Linked DNA regions of Homo sapiens: region 2 is linked to region 1. Evidence: promoter capture Hi-C in 16 types of primary human blood cells and fetal thymus (Javierre and others, 2016). All regions are on one chromosome and are shown on one strand. Each heading gives the region's core, a stretch centred on a gene start or on the middle of the fragment in contact. The rest is flanking DNA. Distances are from core to core; before and after follow the strand shown. Region 1 holds the start of NIPA2 (NIPA magnesium transporter 2). Region 2 overlaps LOC105370739 (a long non-coding RNA gene).

Region 1 (7,544 bases), core at 3,051-5,550:
AAGAGTAATTGGGGAACAATTTATACATAAGAAAACTATTTGATTTCCTAATACATGATTTTTAAAAATACTGTTTTAAAGCTGTTGAAGTCTTGTCATTGTTACAGAAGCACAGGCCAGACTTCTTGCTTCTGTGCCTCTGTAACAATGACAAGATTTCAACAGCTTTATTGGGGTATAATTGACATATAATAAACTGCACATATATAAAATGTGTGATTTGGTAAGTTTTGACAAGTGTCTTATGATGAAAACATTGCCATAAACAAAACACCGAACATCCCCATCACACCAAAGTTTCTTTTTGACCCACTGTAATCCCTTCACCCTCCTTGCCTCCTCTACTCCTAGGGGCCCACTCATCTGCTTTCTGTAACTATACATGGGCTTCCATTTCCTAGGCTTTTATATAAATGTGATCGTTGAGTACACACTGTTTTTTTGGTCTGCTTGTTTCACTTACTAATTATTTTGAGACTCAGCTATGTTAAGGCATGTATCAATAGTTCATCCCCCTGCCTTTTTTTTTTTTTTTGAGGCTTTTTTTTTAGGAGTTTTGCTCTTGTTCCCCAGGCTGGAGTGCAATGGTGCGATCTCAGCTCACTGCAAGCTCCGCCTCCCGGGTTCCCGCTGTTCTCCTGTCTCAGCCTCCCGAGTAGCTGTTACTATAGGTGCCGCCACCACCACACCCAGCTAATTTTTGTAATTTTAGTAGAGACGGGGTTTCACCGTGTTAGCCGGGATGGTCTCAATCTCCTAACCTCGTGATCCGCCCATCTCGGCCTCCCAAAGGGCTGGGATTACAGGTGTGAGCCACCGCACCCGGCCTGCAAGTATTTTTATGGATACATTTCTGTTGAGTAAATACTCAGGAGTAGAACTGCCAGGTCATTTGGTCGGTGTATGTTTAACTTTTTAAGAAACTGTCAACCAATTTTCCAAGGAAATTGTCCCATTTTACAATTCCACCAGTAGTGTATGAGAAGGAGTTAGAGTTTTAAAACCTTAAAAATATCTCATGACAACTGCTTGAACACTCAGAGTATACAAGATGTACAACATCACGGGCTGGAGAAGTGATGTGGGCATGTAAGAAGCCTGCAGCATATTAGCAAGGTATATATAGACTTATAAAGACAATGCACTGTGCAGTGTCGGGGGAGGTGTCCGGTGGGAGGTCCAAATAATGACAGAAAGCTGATTAGATGAGGTGGAGCTCCAGCTGGCAGAAAGGAGTGACAAGCAAATTTGTTCGTTAGGTTAAATTAACATATCGACACCTAAGCATTCCTGTTCATGTGAACAAACCACTACTTTATTACTCATCTGCCTCCTAGAGCAGCAGTCCCCAACCCTTTTGGTACCAAGGACTGATTTCATAGAAGACAATTTTTCCACAGACGCTGGGGAAGGGGGGCGCGGGGAGGATGTTTTCGGGATGAAAGTGTCCCACCTCAGATCATCAGGCATTATTTAGATTCTCATAAGGAGCGTGCAACCTAGATCCCTCGCATGCACAATTCACAATAAGGTTCGCACTCTTGGGGACCTCTGTCCTAGAGGTATTTGTTGGCATCTGTATCAGTTAGTTATTGCTACATACCAATCTACCCCAAAATAAGTGGCTCAGACAATAGTAATTTATCCTTCCTCATGTGTTTATGGGTTAATGGGGCAGTTTTGGTCAGTGGCTGGTCTCAATGGTAGTCAGCCAGCATTTACCTAGGTGGATTTGCTGCTTGCCTTGCCCCATGTGGTCCCCTCCTCCAGCAGGCTAGTCCAGGCATCATAATTTAGTCTGGAACTGCCACATGTTCTTGGCCAAAGCCCAAGGCCAGTACAGATTCAGGAAATAGAGGGGAGCTGCAAAGTCACTGCAAAATGTGTGGGAAATTGGAGCCATTTTTCATCAATCTACCACATCACCTGAGACCAACTTGTCAACCGTCTTTCAATATTCAATGGAATTCCTTATCTGAGAGTGTCAACTAGCCAAAACATGGCTGAGACCAAAGAAAGTAATAGATCCTCTGAGCCAGTTCTGAGATGCAAGTAATAGGTCCTCTGAGCCAGTTTTAAGATGATTGCTAGGCTCACGGCAGATTAAAAGCTTTAAAATTAGAAGCTGCATAGTGACCTAAACCAAAACCAGAGTGGTCAGGGGCTGTGTATACAGTCTAGAACACAACAGTCCAATAGGATTAGAGCCTGAAAAGGACAAATGATATTTGGTGTTTTGTTTCAAAAAGTGCATAATTCATTTTATAAAGATCCTCCCCCCACATGATTTGAATTTCATATAATAGTGTTTTTGTGTCTAGTCACAACCTGGAACAACATTCCTAAGGGACTCTACACCTGCAACCAAGGAATCATTGATTTACTAGGAGATCTAACTCTAGCTGGCTACTCTTTGCTTCTTACAAATGAGCTCTGTCTTTGACTACTTTTGCAGAAACCACGTTGGTGGATCCCAAGGAATTTCTCCTTTCCAGGAGGAGCCAAGGCAGGATAGCCTAACAGTTAGTTTCCTATACATCTCATGAAAAATAAATCTGCGCTTTGGGAGGCTGAGGCGGGTGAATCACGAGGTCAAGAGATCGAGACCATCCTGGCCAACATGGTGAAACCCTGTCTCTAATAAAAATGCAAAAATTGGCTGGGTGTGGTGGCTCACACCTGTAATCCCAGCACTTTGGGAGGCCGAGGCGGGCGGATCACGAGGTCAGGAGTTCGAAACCAGCCTGGCCAACATGGTGAAACCCCATCTCTACTAAAAATACAAAAATTAGCTGGGCGTGGTGGTGTGCACCTGTAATCCCAGCTACTGGGGAGGCTGAGGCAGGAGAATGGCTTCATTGAACCCAGGAGGCAGAGGTTGCAGTGAGCCGAGATCGTGTCACTGCGCTCCAGCCTGGGTGACAAGAAAGACTCCGTCTTAAAAAAAAAAAAAAATTAGCCGGGCGTGGCGGCGCGCGCCTACAGTCCCAGCTATTCGGGAGGCTGAGGCAGGAGAATCGCTTGAACCGGGGAGGCGGAGTTTGCAGTGAGCCGAGATCGTGCCACTGCACTCCAGTCTGGCGACAGAGCGAGACTCTGTCTCAAAATCAATCATTCAATCAATCTGCTCTCAGTGTCTCGAGGCGGGCTTTCACCAAACGTCAACCTCACATCTATTCCGCGACCGGGTCAGTAAGGAAGGGCCCAGCGGTCGTCGAACTACCACAGCTATTTCGGCCCCGCCCCGTCCCGCCCCCAGCTTTGGACCCACCCTTTCCCCCGCTTCTTGCCCTCTTGGGAGCTCTGTTCCCCTTTGGCATCGCCCGGGGACACCAATTAAATGCAGCTTCACACTGTGACTGCCCCTGGGAACCCTCATTTTATTTTATTTATTTATTTATTTTTGAGAAGGAGTCTCGCTCTGTCGCCCAGGTGGAGTGCAGTGGCTGATCTCGGCTCACTGCAACCTCCGCCTCCCGAGTTCAAGCGATTCCCCTGCCTCAGCCTCTGGAGTAGCTGAGATTACTGGCGCGCACCAACACGTCCAGCTAATTTTTGTATTTTTAGTAGAGATGCGGTTTCCCCATGTTGGTCACGTTGGTCTCGAACTCCTGACCTCGTGATCTGCCCGCCTCGGCCTCCCAAAGTGCTGTGATTACAGGTGTGAGCCACCGCGCCCGGCCGGAACCCTCATTTATTCTATTTTTTTTTGAGACGGAGTCTCGCTCTGTCGCCCAGGCTGGAGTGCAGTGGCGGGATCTCCGATCACTGCAAGCTCCGCCTCCCGGGTTCGCGCCCTTCTCCTGCCTCAGTGTCCCGAGTAGCTGGGACTACAAGCACCCGCCACCACGCCCGGCTAATTTTTTGTATTTTTAGTAGGGGCGGGGTTTCACCGTGTTAGCCAGGATGGTCTCGATCTGCTGACCTCGGGATCCGCCCGCCTTGGTCTCCCAAAGTGCTGGGATTACAGGCGTGAGCCACAGCGCCGGGCCCGGAATCCTCGTTTTAAATAAGGGCCACGCCGGAGTTTGATTTTGAACTGATCGGCCAACGCCACCTGGCAGCATACTGTACTGCTTAACTACGCTTCCAGCTTCGTCCCTCGCCAGGTCCCGCCTGGATCCTGCGCCCCGCCCCCGTCCCCACACTCTACGCGCCCCGCCCTCCGCGCTCAGCCGACTGGGGCCTTGTAAAGGAACCGGAACCCGGCGGGAGAGAGCCCCGGGGGCGGGGTGTACGTGGTGCGGCACTGCGCGTGCGCGCGAGGCCTCTTGCGTCATTTAGCCGCGCCTAGGTTTTCCGGCGCCGGCCCTAGGTCCCGGCAGCGGTGGTGACGGCGGTGCCGGAGGTTGTCCTTGGCAGGTTTTCCTCGGCGCTTCTCCATGGAGGAGGCGGTGCGAACGGCTTCAGCCCCGAATGCTCGCATCTCCCACTGGACGGCGACGAAGGCGGTGGCCGTGCGAGCGCAGGACTGGGCGGCCTGTGTGGGGGTGTGAGCCGCGGTGCCCAAGGCTGCGCCGGCGAGGGGAAGCCGCGCGGCCGGCCGGCCGACTAGGGTGAGGTCGCCACTCCTTCCTTTCAGGCAAGCGCGAAGGGGCTGACTTGGTGGCGAGCCAGCCCGCCTTGTGTCGGAGAAGGGTTCTTCGGGCAACTTTCCTTTCCGGGTGTTCTGAAGCGGTTTTCCTGTAATCCTCAGTGAGGAAACCCACCGTGAATCGGATTGCCGTTCAGTCCCACGGAAGCCTGGCTCGTTGGCCATGTCGGGGACGCATGTTCATTAAGTTCATTAAAATAATTTCATTTGTCTTGGTGAGTTTTAGAAGGTGGCTTCAGCTGCTGCGGGGATCATAACTGACAGTTAAACAAGCCTTAGAAGTCTGCTGTGACGTTTTGAGCCTGACTGTTTTAATTTCCTTTTATAAAATCACGGAATCCTATTTCCCTCTCTATACAATTGCTCAAAACTGTGTGTTTAGTTTGGTGTTTGTGCCTCCTTAATTTCTTTTCTAGGTTGTTAGTTCATTTAATACAGGACTGCATGTTAAGTTCTGTTTCTAGAAATCCTGTGTATAGCCATGTGCCCGGTTAATACTTTTTTTAGTAAGAGGAAATATCAGAGTCGAGAGTTTCCATTCCAGTAAGCTGCCTGTCGAAGCAGTAGTTGTGCTCGATTGAGTAGGTTTTATGTTGATTGGTTGGCAAAATGAGTATGAAGGCTAGTAACCAAATTATAAAACGTACTTAGTAACTTTAAGTCTTTTGCCTACTTCTGTGTTTTCTTCTTTCTAGGCTGGAGCTACTCGGCCAGGGTTTAAGACTTTAAATGAGAATAAAGGGTGGTATTTACGAGGAAATGAGAGTGAATAAGTCATCTCTAACCTCTCCCAGCCTTTTTTTCATAAGAGAGACCATATTAAACTTACATGTAAGTTAAAATTGTAATTTATAACTAATATTGTTGCATAGTTAGGGTTGGAGATTTAGGTTCTGTAATATTTATAAGTACAGTACTGCTTTGAAAAATTATTAGCCAAGTGAGAGGTTGGAAAAAATTAAATCTAACATGTATTTAATTTTTCTGAGCCAAGGTCTTGCTCTGTCCCCAGGCTAGACGGTGCAATCTGGGCTCACTGCAACTTCCGCCTCCCGGGCTCAAGTGCTCCTCCCACCTCAGCCTCCCCAGCAGCTGGGACCACAGACGTGCGGCACCATGCCTGGCTAATTTTTGTATTTTTTTTAGAACCGGGGTTTCACCATGTTACACCGGCTGGTCTCCTAATTCTGGACTTAAGCGATCCAACCACCTTGGCCTCCAAAGTGCGGGGATTACAGGTGTGAGCCACCGAGCCGGGCCTAAGCTAACTTAGATAGCAGTGGAAACCAGGTAGTAAAGATTTCGTAGAAAACTAAGAGCTCTATATATAGTTTTTTTTTTTGTTTTTTTTTTTTTGAGATGGAATCTTGCTCTGTCACTCGGGCTGGAGTGCAGTGGCACGATCTCTGCTCACTGCAACCTCCGCCTCCTGGGTTCAAGCGGTTCTCCTGCCTCAGCCTCCGGAGTAGCTGGGGTTACAGGCGCCGGCGACCACGCCCAGCTAATTTTTGTATTTTTAGTAGAGACGGGGGTTTCACCTTGTTGGCCAGGCTGGTCTCTTAACTCCTGACCTCAGGTGATCCGCCCGCCTCGACCCCCCAAAGTGCTGGGATTACAGGCGTGAGCCACCGCGCCCGACCTAAGAGCTCTAAAGTGTTAATGTAATGTGGGCAGCCGGGTGTAGAAGTAAAGTCCCTTTCTGTGTGGTCCTCTGCATGTGACTCTTTTTTACCCCTGGGAGGTTTCCTTAGCTGTAAAGTGATACCTTCATCTTATTGCGTAGAAGAGAAATGAGTAGAAATGATGCATGGAATAGTGCCTGGGGAGGTGTTCAGTAAGTGGTAGCTATTGTTAGGGAGAGATAATAAAAAGAATTTCACATATTTTCAGAATGTTTTTAATAGGTAAATATGGTTTACTCATATTTAAAACACATGACTTTGAATATTACATTTTTTTATAGATGGTGTAAGCTTCATTTAAACTGATTTATTTGATTGCTATACATTGTGATATTGAACAGAAAGATAAGACTTCTGCAGAGAATAAAAGGTGGGGTGGGGGTGGGAGAGGAAATGGGAGATTTAGGTCACAGGATACAAAGTAGCAGATATTCAGGATGTACAACTTGAGAACTACAGCTAATGAAATTGTATTAGAGATTTTCCTTCAATGAGTAGATTTTAGCTGCTTTTGTCATAAAAAAGTAACTACATGAGATGATAGATATGTTGATTTGCTCTACTGTGGTAACTGTGTTAGTATCTGTATGTTTCCCATAACATAAATCTCAAATATACACAATTTGCAAAGATTTATCTGTGTTGTAGAATTAAATACACCCCTCAGACTAGATTAGAGCATCCTTAAACATTTCTGCATATCTATTTGTTTTATGTAAATGAAGTTGAAACAGAACTACTTAAATAGTTCTGTAATGGCTCCAGATGAAAATAAATTATGATCTGGCCAAATAAATGGGTTGCAGATCTGTTCCTTGCCTTTTGGGTTTGTGTATGGCCCATAGGGCCCCACGTGATCTGACACTCACCTTTTTTTTTCTTCTGAGATGCAGTTTTGCTCTTGTTGCCCAGGCTAGAGTGCAGCTGTGCGATCTCGGCTCACTGCAACCTCCGCCCTCCAGTTTCTAGCGATTCTCCTGCCTCAGCCTCCCGAGTAGCTGGGATTACAGGCGCCCGCCACCATGCCTGGCTGATTTTTGTATTTTTAGTAGAGTCGGGGTTTCACCATGTTGGTCAGGCTGGTCTCGAACTCCTGACCTCATGATCCACCCGCCTCGACCTCCCAAAGTGCTGGGATTATAGGCGTGAGCCACCGCGCCCGGCCGGACACTCGCTTTTTCACGCTAATGTATCTCACCTGCCCTCACTCAAGGTCAGCCACAGTGGCCTTTGTTTAGGAAACTGCACACCCGCTCATACCTCAGAGC
Region 2 (7,544 bases), core at 2,267-4,766, 3.3 Mb after region 1:
ATACATTTCTATAATTTATTGGACACTTGATGTATTTTAATAATTTAGAATTTAGATTTCAGAAATGTTTAGATCTGAAAGATAACTGGGGATTGTCAAGGCTAGAACCTGAAAAATATCCAGGAGGTAGAAATCACTGGCCCCAAATCATCCAACTGAGAGATTTAGTGAAATCCTTTTAGCAGATCATCCTGTATTGGTCCCATGATAAAAATAATATTGGAATATGATGAAATGAATGAAAGTCTAAACAGCATTTTTTCCATCAAGGAATGGAAAGTTCCATGACAACAAACATTCTGAACCAGTGTCTATTAGTTGTAATTTGGGTGCTATATTATTACTGGTAATCAATGGTTTATTAACTTGAGCAACCTGAGAGTTAAAGTAGAATAATATGGATTGTGTATGTGTGTCTGTGTGTATATTCATGTGTATAAGTTTCCTCCCTCTTTTGAAGTCAGATGTCCCTGGCATAAATGCTACTTCTAAAAGCTGACTAGTGCTGGGCAGGAGAATCGCTTGAACCTGGGAGCAGGAGGTTGCAGTGAGCTGAGATCGTGCCACTGCACTCCAGCCTGGTGACAGAGCAAGACTCCGTCTCGAAAATAAAAATAAAATAAAAATAAAAATAAATAAATAAATAAAAGCTGACTAGCTAATTTTTGGAAAAACTACTGAACCTTTGAATTTGAATTTCCCTCTATAATAAAAAGAGTCTCTGTGAGAGCACTGAGTCCTTGCGAGGGTGAGTTCTTAGTATCATGCCTGAAATGAAGGTAGTACTTACTGTGGGTTAATTGCCAGTGTCCACTCTCACCCTACAAATGTTCTGTGGAAAGCCTCAGTCTGGCCACCTCCACTCAACTACTGAACAGGGGTTAGCAGGGACCCATGGCTCCTCCAGTGACAGATCTTGTGGATGATCACTTCTCCAGTGGTGTTTGGTTCTGACTGAGCAAATTACCTGCATTTCACCCCATTCTGTCTGCCCAGACCTCTGTAACAGTATCATCCCCAGAAAGCTGAAGGGACTTGCTTAAGTGCACACAGCCAATTTGGCCAAGCTGCTGGGAAAGATATCGTGTGTTCTCTGTGTGTACATGTGTGCTTTCCTCTTCAGCTCTCTTTCTTTTGCTGGAATCTGGCAGTGCTTCTTGTCTTTATTGGTTATTTGATAACTGTTTAAGGCCTTGTGGTTTTTATCATCTTTAAGCCAATTAATCAGAGCTCTTTCATATGTAAACATCACATGTGCAACACATGTAAATACACAGAAAGACAAAAGAAGGTCCAGTAGTTGTAAGATTTTTCATTTGCCAGTTTTTAAGTTTCTTAAATGTATGTTTTCAAAAACCTTAAATTGAATGCAAGTTCCTTGGGTAAGAGTCATGTCTGCACTGGTTTTCTGCCCTGTCCGTGGAAAAGCATGGAGCGTAGTACACAGGTGAAATGCAACTACTTTTTTTTTTTTTCTTAAAGAAAGGGAGTCTCACAGTCTTGCACAGGCTGGAGTGCAACAATTTTTTTTGATAGGTTTATTTCCTTTTTAATGATAGTTAAGGTTGTAGAAATAATTTTTGGCAAGTCCAACTTTCTCAACTCATGTTAAATAAATGTGTCCAGTGGGGAAGGAAGATGATGACTACCCTTATTCTTGCTCTAACAAACACACAAAACAAAACAAAAATTGACATTGCTTCCAGAGAGTGTCTTTGGTGGTTCTCTAAGCCAAGCAAAACTTCTATTTTAAAAAGTAACTGTTTAATTATATTAGCTTAACCTCATGAAATTGTCAAGAATCCACTGGTTTTGACTTACTACAATGGAAATTTCATATCGTTCAACTTAATTCCTCTACCCCTAACTGTGAGTGTCAGATCTACCTATTATATTAACAGGGGAGACTAAATGGAAAGCTCACTGTTTAATTAAAATCTGAGGTTCTCCAACATCAATAAGAACAGCAATAACAACAAAAAATTGTACTTGCTTCCAAAATTACAGATACTTTGATTTTTAAAGTGAAAGAATATTTCAGGGGAAAGAGACATTTAACTGATGGCAATTAAAACATTTTATTTTGCATATTTTTACAAAAACATATGACTCTAAGAAGATATTCCGGGAGCTACTCCCAGGGCTTAGAAAAGGCCGGAACAACTGAGGTTCCCGGAAGCTTAAGCCTCATTAACTTTGTGAGACTTCACCTCCGGCTGAAAGGAAAGAGTTAAACATTCCTGTCAATGTTCTCCCTTAGGTCCTATTATCAGTGAGTGTGGGTCTTCACTGGGTCCCTCCAGAACTGTTGGATAGGCTTCCTCGCTGGTCTCTCATGCCCCAGGTTTGTCCTCTGTCTAATACGATTAGGCAAGTCCACAGTTTAAAACCCTTTAATGGCATTAATCATATCAGATCACGTTCAAATTCCTTAGCAATTCGGGAAGGTTATTAGCATCTGACTCATGCCCCAACCCACAGCCTCACTTCTCTGCTTCAGATCCTTGAAGCTTCTCCTAACACACCCAACTGCTTGAAAACATTTTTCTTTTGTCTGATTTGTTTCTTCCTAAAATCCTTTCTTTCCCCTATTTTATGCATGTTATTTGTCCATTTTTCTCTACCTAAGAAATGTGTACCTGTCAGCAAGACTCAGCTTGAATGTAACTTCATTATAGAAGCACTCCTAAATAAATGAATAGTTCAAAAAAGAAATCCTCCCGGAATTGACTTCTGTGCCATGGTGCCTCCATCCCCATCCCAAGAGGATTATTCTCATCATACCACTGATTAAAAAAAACTTCAGCTGAATTAAATGTAAAGGGGTTTAAGCAATGAATGATTCATGAATCAGGCAGCCTCCTGAGCCAGAGTAGACTCTGAGACTCCAGCACAGCCATGGGGTGGAAGAAGACTGATGGACAGAAAAAGGAAAGTGACACACAGAAAATGGAAGTGAGGTACAGAAAGAGCTGGATTGGGTACAGCTTGGTGTTTGCCTTATTTGAACAGTTTGAACAGTTGGCTACATTTGATTGGCCAAAACTCAGTGATTGGCACAAGTGTAGGCTGCGGTCTGTTTACACTTCCACTTGTTGTAGTTCACCATGTGCAGAGAAACCTTTAGGCTGAACTTAAAATATGTAAGGAGGCAGCTTTAGGCTAAACTTGATTTAACAATTTCACCCCAAATTAGAGAGATCAAAACTTTAGTCATTGATGTCACTGTAACCATTGTAAATATACTTATTTGGTCTTTAAACCCACTGGGAAATGGTAGAACAGTGGGTTTTGCAAGGTAGGAGCAAGGACTGAGTAGAAGGTACCTCCTTATGCTGGAACGTCCTGTTTACAGGAGAAAAACAAAACCTGATCTGTTCTAGGATCTGTGTGTTTCCTTAAAGTCTTAGTTTGATTACATCACATTTAACGTGAGTGACTCCATTTTGGTTTGGTCTGGTCCTTTTGGGGCCTAGTGCATGAGCTCAGTCCAAAACAATGGCCTCTCATAATTTTGTTTAAAAATTCCTCCTTTTGGGTCAGGTTCTCACTTAGGTGAAAGTGTGACCAAAACTAAGGGCTTTAGTGCCACTTTCAGTACCATCAGTTTGGGTTTCTGGTCTCAATGTGGTCATTCATAGGTTACGATGTCGTCATGGTCACACATTTCTTTCAGTTCTTGTCATTCCAGTTGAAGAAAGACCATTTGACATTTTAGAGATGGCTGCATGCAAACATTTAAAACTTTTGAGAGAATACAGCATACCAGGGAGACTACTATTATAACTATCAGGGGGATAATAGCAAGAGTTTGGAGTATCCTCCCTACCCAAGACCCCCATAAACCAAATCACCTAAAATTAAATAGATCAAAGAATGAGCTAAAGAGTCGACTTGCTTAATTAAGTGGTCTCTTTGCTAATCCTTTACAACTGAATCTCTGTAATCTACTTTTGATATATTTCTCTATAGGCCACAAGTGTCAACAGTGACACAGATAGTTTTCTGTTTAGCCAGTTCTATTATTTAGCATAATTTTCACAAGATAATTTAAAGTCTGCTGTGTAACCATGGCTTTTACAGTAGAATCTGCTATAGAGCCTATCATGAGGGAAACATTTCTCATCATTGCCTTTTTTACTCGAAACCATGGAAAAAAGGACCTAACAAATGATGCCCTTCTAGAAGAGTGAAGCTCTCCTGGTAATGTTCTCTTTAACCCATGATGTGGGTTAAGAGGAGTGAACCAATGCTCTGTTTCTGACTGATTACGAGGCAAAGTGTGTACCATTAAAGTTTCTGTTTCTCACCTACATCGGGCCTTCATCTTTCATCTGTCAAGATATAAGGTTATCCATGTATAAGGCTGGCTGCAAAATCCTTCATAACTAAAAGTATACCCCATGAGTGCACACAACAGACCCCTTTTCCACTTGTATTGTTCATACAGGCATAAGCAAGGGGAAAAGTATTCAAAGATAAGAGTCTCATGATAATAGAAGTCTTGATCTGTGATGTTGGGAAAAGCTTTTTGCATCAAGGATGCCATCTTCTTCTTAGGGAGAAACTTCCCTGGTTAGCTTTACCTTAAGGGTTCCAATGGGTGTACAGTTCAACAGTGTGGAGGGACCCTTCTCAGTTGTGAGATTATGAACCCAAGGCTCGAGGTCCTGAAGTTTTACTGCAGTGAGGATGGCTAAAGCAATCTTTCTCTGATGTCTCAGAGGATCCAATCTTCGGGTTCTAGATTGTGAAGGAGTTGATTGTCCTCAGTGAACCATAAAAAGTTTTTTTGCCTGTGACATAATTATTGTTATAACATCAGTCCTCTTGCATGGTAAAGCTTTCATACAACCAGAAAATATTCACTGAAAATGACAATTAAATGAAATCCCTCCATAAATGTTTAAATGACCCATTGGGTAGCCAAATGTACCTGAAGCTTTGATTGTCTTCCCAGGAGTATAGGTTTGAAAAACCAAACATTGGTCATAAACTATTTTAGCAATTTAGAATTCATGCCAATGTATATTTAATTTGGGTCATTTTATCTTTTCTGTGATGAGTCATGGAATGCAGAGCTTTTAATAAAATCTTTAAAGAGTCAGAAAGGACAAGGTGACTGTCCTGGTTCTCCATGAGTCCATGCTTAACATTGGACTTATGTCTTCTCGAATACCAGTTACTTCTCCAATTTAGATACATAATGCTGATAACTGATGGGTTAACATAGGTAATTTGACTTAGACCATGGAGTTCATTCAATTTGTATATCTAAACAATTTCAGTATTGGCTGATTTAGCGTGAAAATCTTGCAAAGTATTTTCTTGGTATTCAATTAATTTTTATTTTACTTGGGTTAGCAGTTTTGTAACCCAGTCAGTCTTTTCATTAAAGTTCCAGGAATTATTACCCAGTCCAAATGATATGATTTTAAAGTTACCAGAAACCTGTATACAAGAGTGATTTTCAGGGTCTTTTCCATCCTTTCATGAACCTCCCAAAAGACACCATATTCTAGGATTTGGTGTGCTTGTGAAGTTTTCAGAAACTGCATCAGCATTAAGCAATTAACTGTGGAAATGGCTTTAAATAGTCATAATTAAAGCCACACTTGACAAGGAAATTTGGTTATTTCTGTGGTCTAAAATAACTTAACATATTATGATTGATAGCATATACCAGACATATTCGAATTTTAGCAATCCCATACAATTTTGGAACATATATTAACATCATTCACTAAAATATAACATGAAGAATGTTAAACATTATTTTTTACTTTTACAGAGCTTCCCATGTAACTTAACATGTCAAATAATCCTGTTGACCTCTTTTAAAGTCTTCAGGGGCCCTCTGTAGCATGTCAAAGTTAGAGGTCAGAAGAGACGATTTTGAAGATGAAATTTGATTTTGGGAAGCCTGTGTAACCACCCAGTGGGTTCACCTTGCCCACTGCCTAGACAAAGCCAATTTATCAAGACAGGGGAATTGCAATCAAGAAAGCGTAATTCATGCAGAGCCAGCTGTGTGGGAGACCAGAGTTTTATTATTACTCAAGTCAGTCTTCCTGAGCATTCGGGGATCAGAATTTTTAAGACCAGCTTGGTGAGTCGGGGGAAGCCAGTGAACTGCAAATGCTGATTGGTCAGGTCCGAGGTGAAATCATAGGGAGTTGAAGCTGTCTTCTTGTGCTGGGTCATTTCCTGGGTGGGGACCACAAGACCAGATAAGCCAGTTTGTCAGTCTGGATGGTGTCAGCTGATCCATCAAGTGCAGGGGCTGCAAAATACCTCAAGCACTGATTTTAGGAGCAGTTTAGGGAGGGTCAGACTCTTGTAGCCTCAGCTGCATGACTCCTAAGCCATAATTTCTAATCTGTGGCTAATTTGCTAATTTGACTATAAGGGCAGTCTAGTCCCCAGGCAAGAAAGGGGTTTCTTTTGGGAAAGGACTGTTACCATGTTTGTTTTAAATTATAAACTATAAACAAAGTTTCTCCCAAAGATAGTTCAGCCTACACCCAGGAATGAACAAAGACAGCTTGGAGATTAGAAGCAAGATGGAGTCGGTTAGGTCAGATCTCTTTCACTATCTCAGTGACAATTTAGCAATGGCGGTTTCACCTATAAAATATGTTAACGGTTTGAAACACTTGATATTATGAAATAGAATTCTAGGTCACCATAAATCATTCATTTAGTCAAAATACTAACTCGAAACTTTTAAAAAGGCAAAAATCTTCACTTATTGATAGAAGGAAGACTTAGCTTTCCAAACCATCTGTCTCTTGTTTTTCCCTTCTTTATTCAGTAGTTTATTCAAAAGGCAAAGTAAAATCTTTCGTTATTGTTTACATGAAACAATTCGTTTTTACGAATTGTTTACATGAAACAATTGTTTATATGAAACAATTTCGTTATTGTTACATGAAAATCTTGTTGAAGAGAAAAAGCCAAGTTTCACCCTTGAATTAGGATACTATTAATGTCAACCCCAATCTTTAATAAAACCTTATAGACAAATCTATTTAATCTTAATCAGTTTGATCATAAGGTGAGATTCTCATAAACCCTTTATAACCCTTTACAAATTTTTGTTAAAGAGCAGATCAGTGCTCTAAGAAAACCCTGTTGAGCTTTTATTCCAATATGTAACTTATGGAAAAACTGAATAAAACCCCTTTAACTTTACTCAGTAAGTTCACACACAGAGTTACTTTTACAAGATTAACTTTTCACAAACCTTCCACAACTTGCTTAAACCTTCAGCTTTATCCTTATCTAACCTAAAACAATTCTTTAACCCTTTAATCTAGGCAAAAATATCCACATTCCCATGACTTCTTATGATCTTTTACTAAAAACACATTTCACTTTCTTTATACCCCCTGCATGTAAAACTGTTCCTTCAGTAGTCTCAATTATATGTTACAATGTTAACACTCAGCAACTTTTTTTTTTTTTTTTAATTATTTTTTTGGAGATGGAGTCTTGCTCTGTTACCCAGACTGGAGTGCAGTCACATGATCTTGGCTCACTGC

What was found. Contacts are between HindIII fragments. The CHiCAGO score rates a contact against its expected background, and 5 or more counts as called.
Region 2: a fragment that was not itself captured here is called in contact with the fragment with the promoter of NIPA2 in region 1 in 3 of 17 cell types (fetal thymus, non-activated CD4 T cells and total CD4 T cells); the score reaches 11.9 in fetal thymus.

What each region holds. Positions count from the first base shown.
Region 1 is chr15:22,834,366-22,841,909 of GRCh38, forward strand. NIPA2 (NIPA magnesium transporter 2) reads left to right here and starts at 4,301. Exons shown (of 8, transcript NM_030922.7): 1 at 4,301-4,556; 2 at 5,290-5,425. RefSeq lists an enhancer at 4,198-4,427. The HindIII fragment of the contact is 4,457 bases long and covers 2,113-6,569 here.
Region 2 is chr15:26,085,180-26,092,723 of GRCh38, forward strand. It overlaps LOC105370739 (a long non-coding RNA gene), which reads right to left. Exons shown (of 6, transcript XR_932005.3): 6 at 4,452-4,796. Among named protein-coding and RNA genes, the nearest start is that of TRE-TTC2-2, 6.6 kb to the left of the region's middle. The HindIII fragment of the contact is 2,017 bases long and covers 2,509-4,525 here.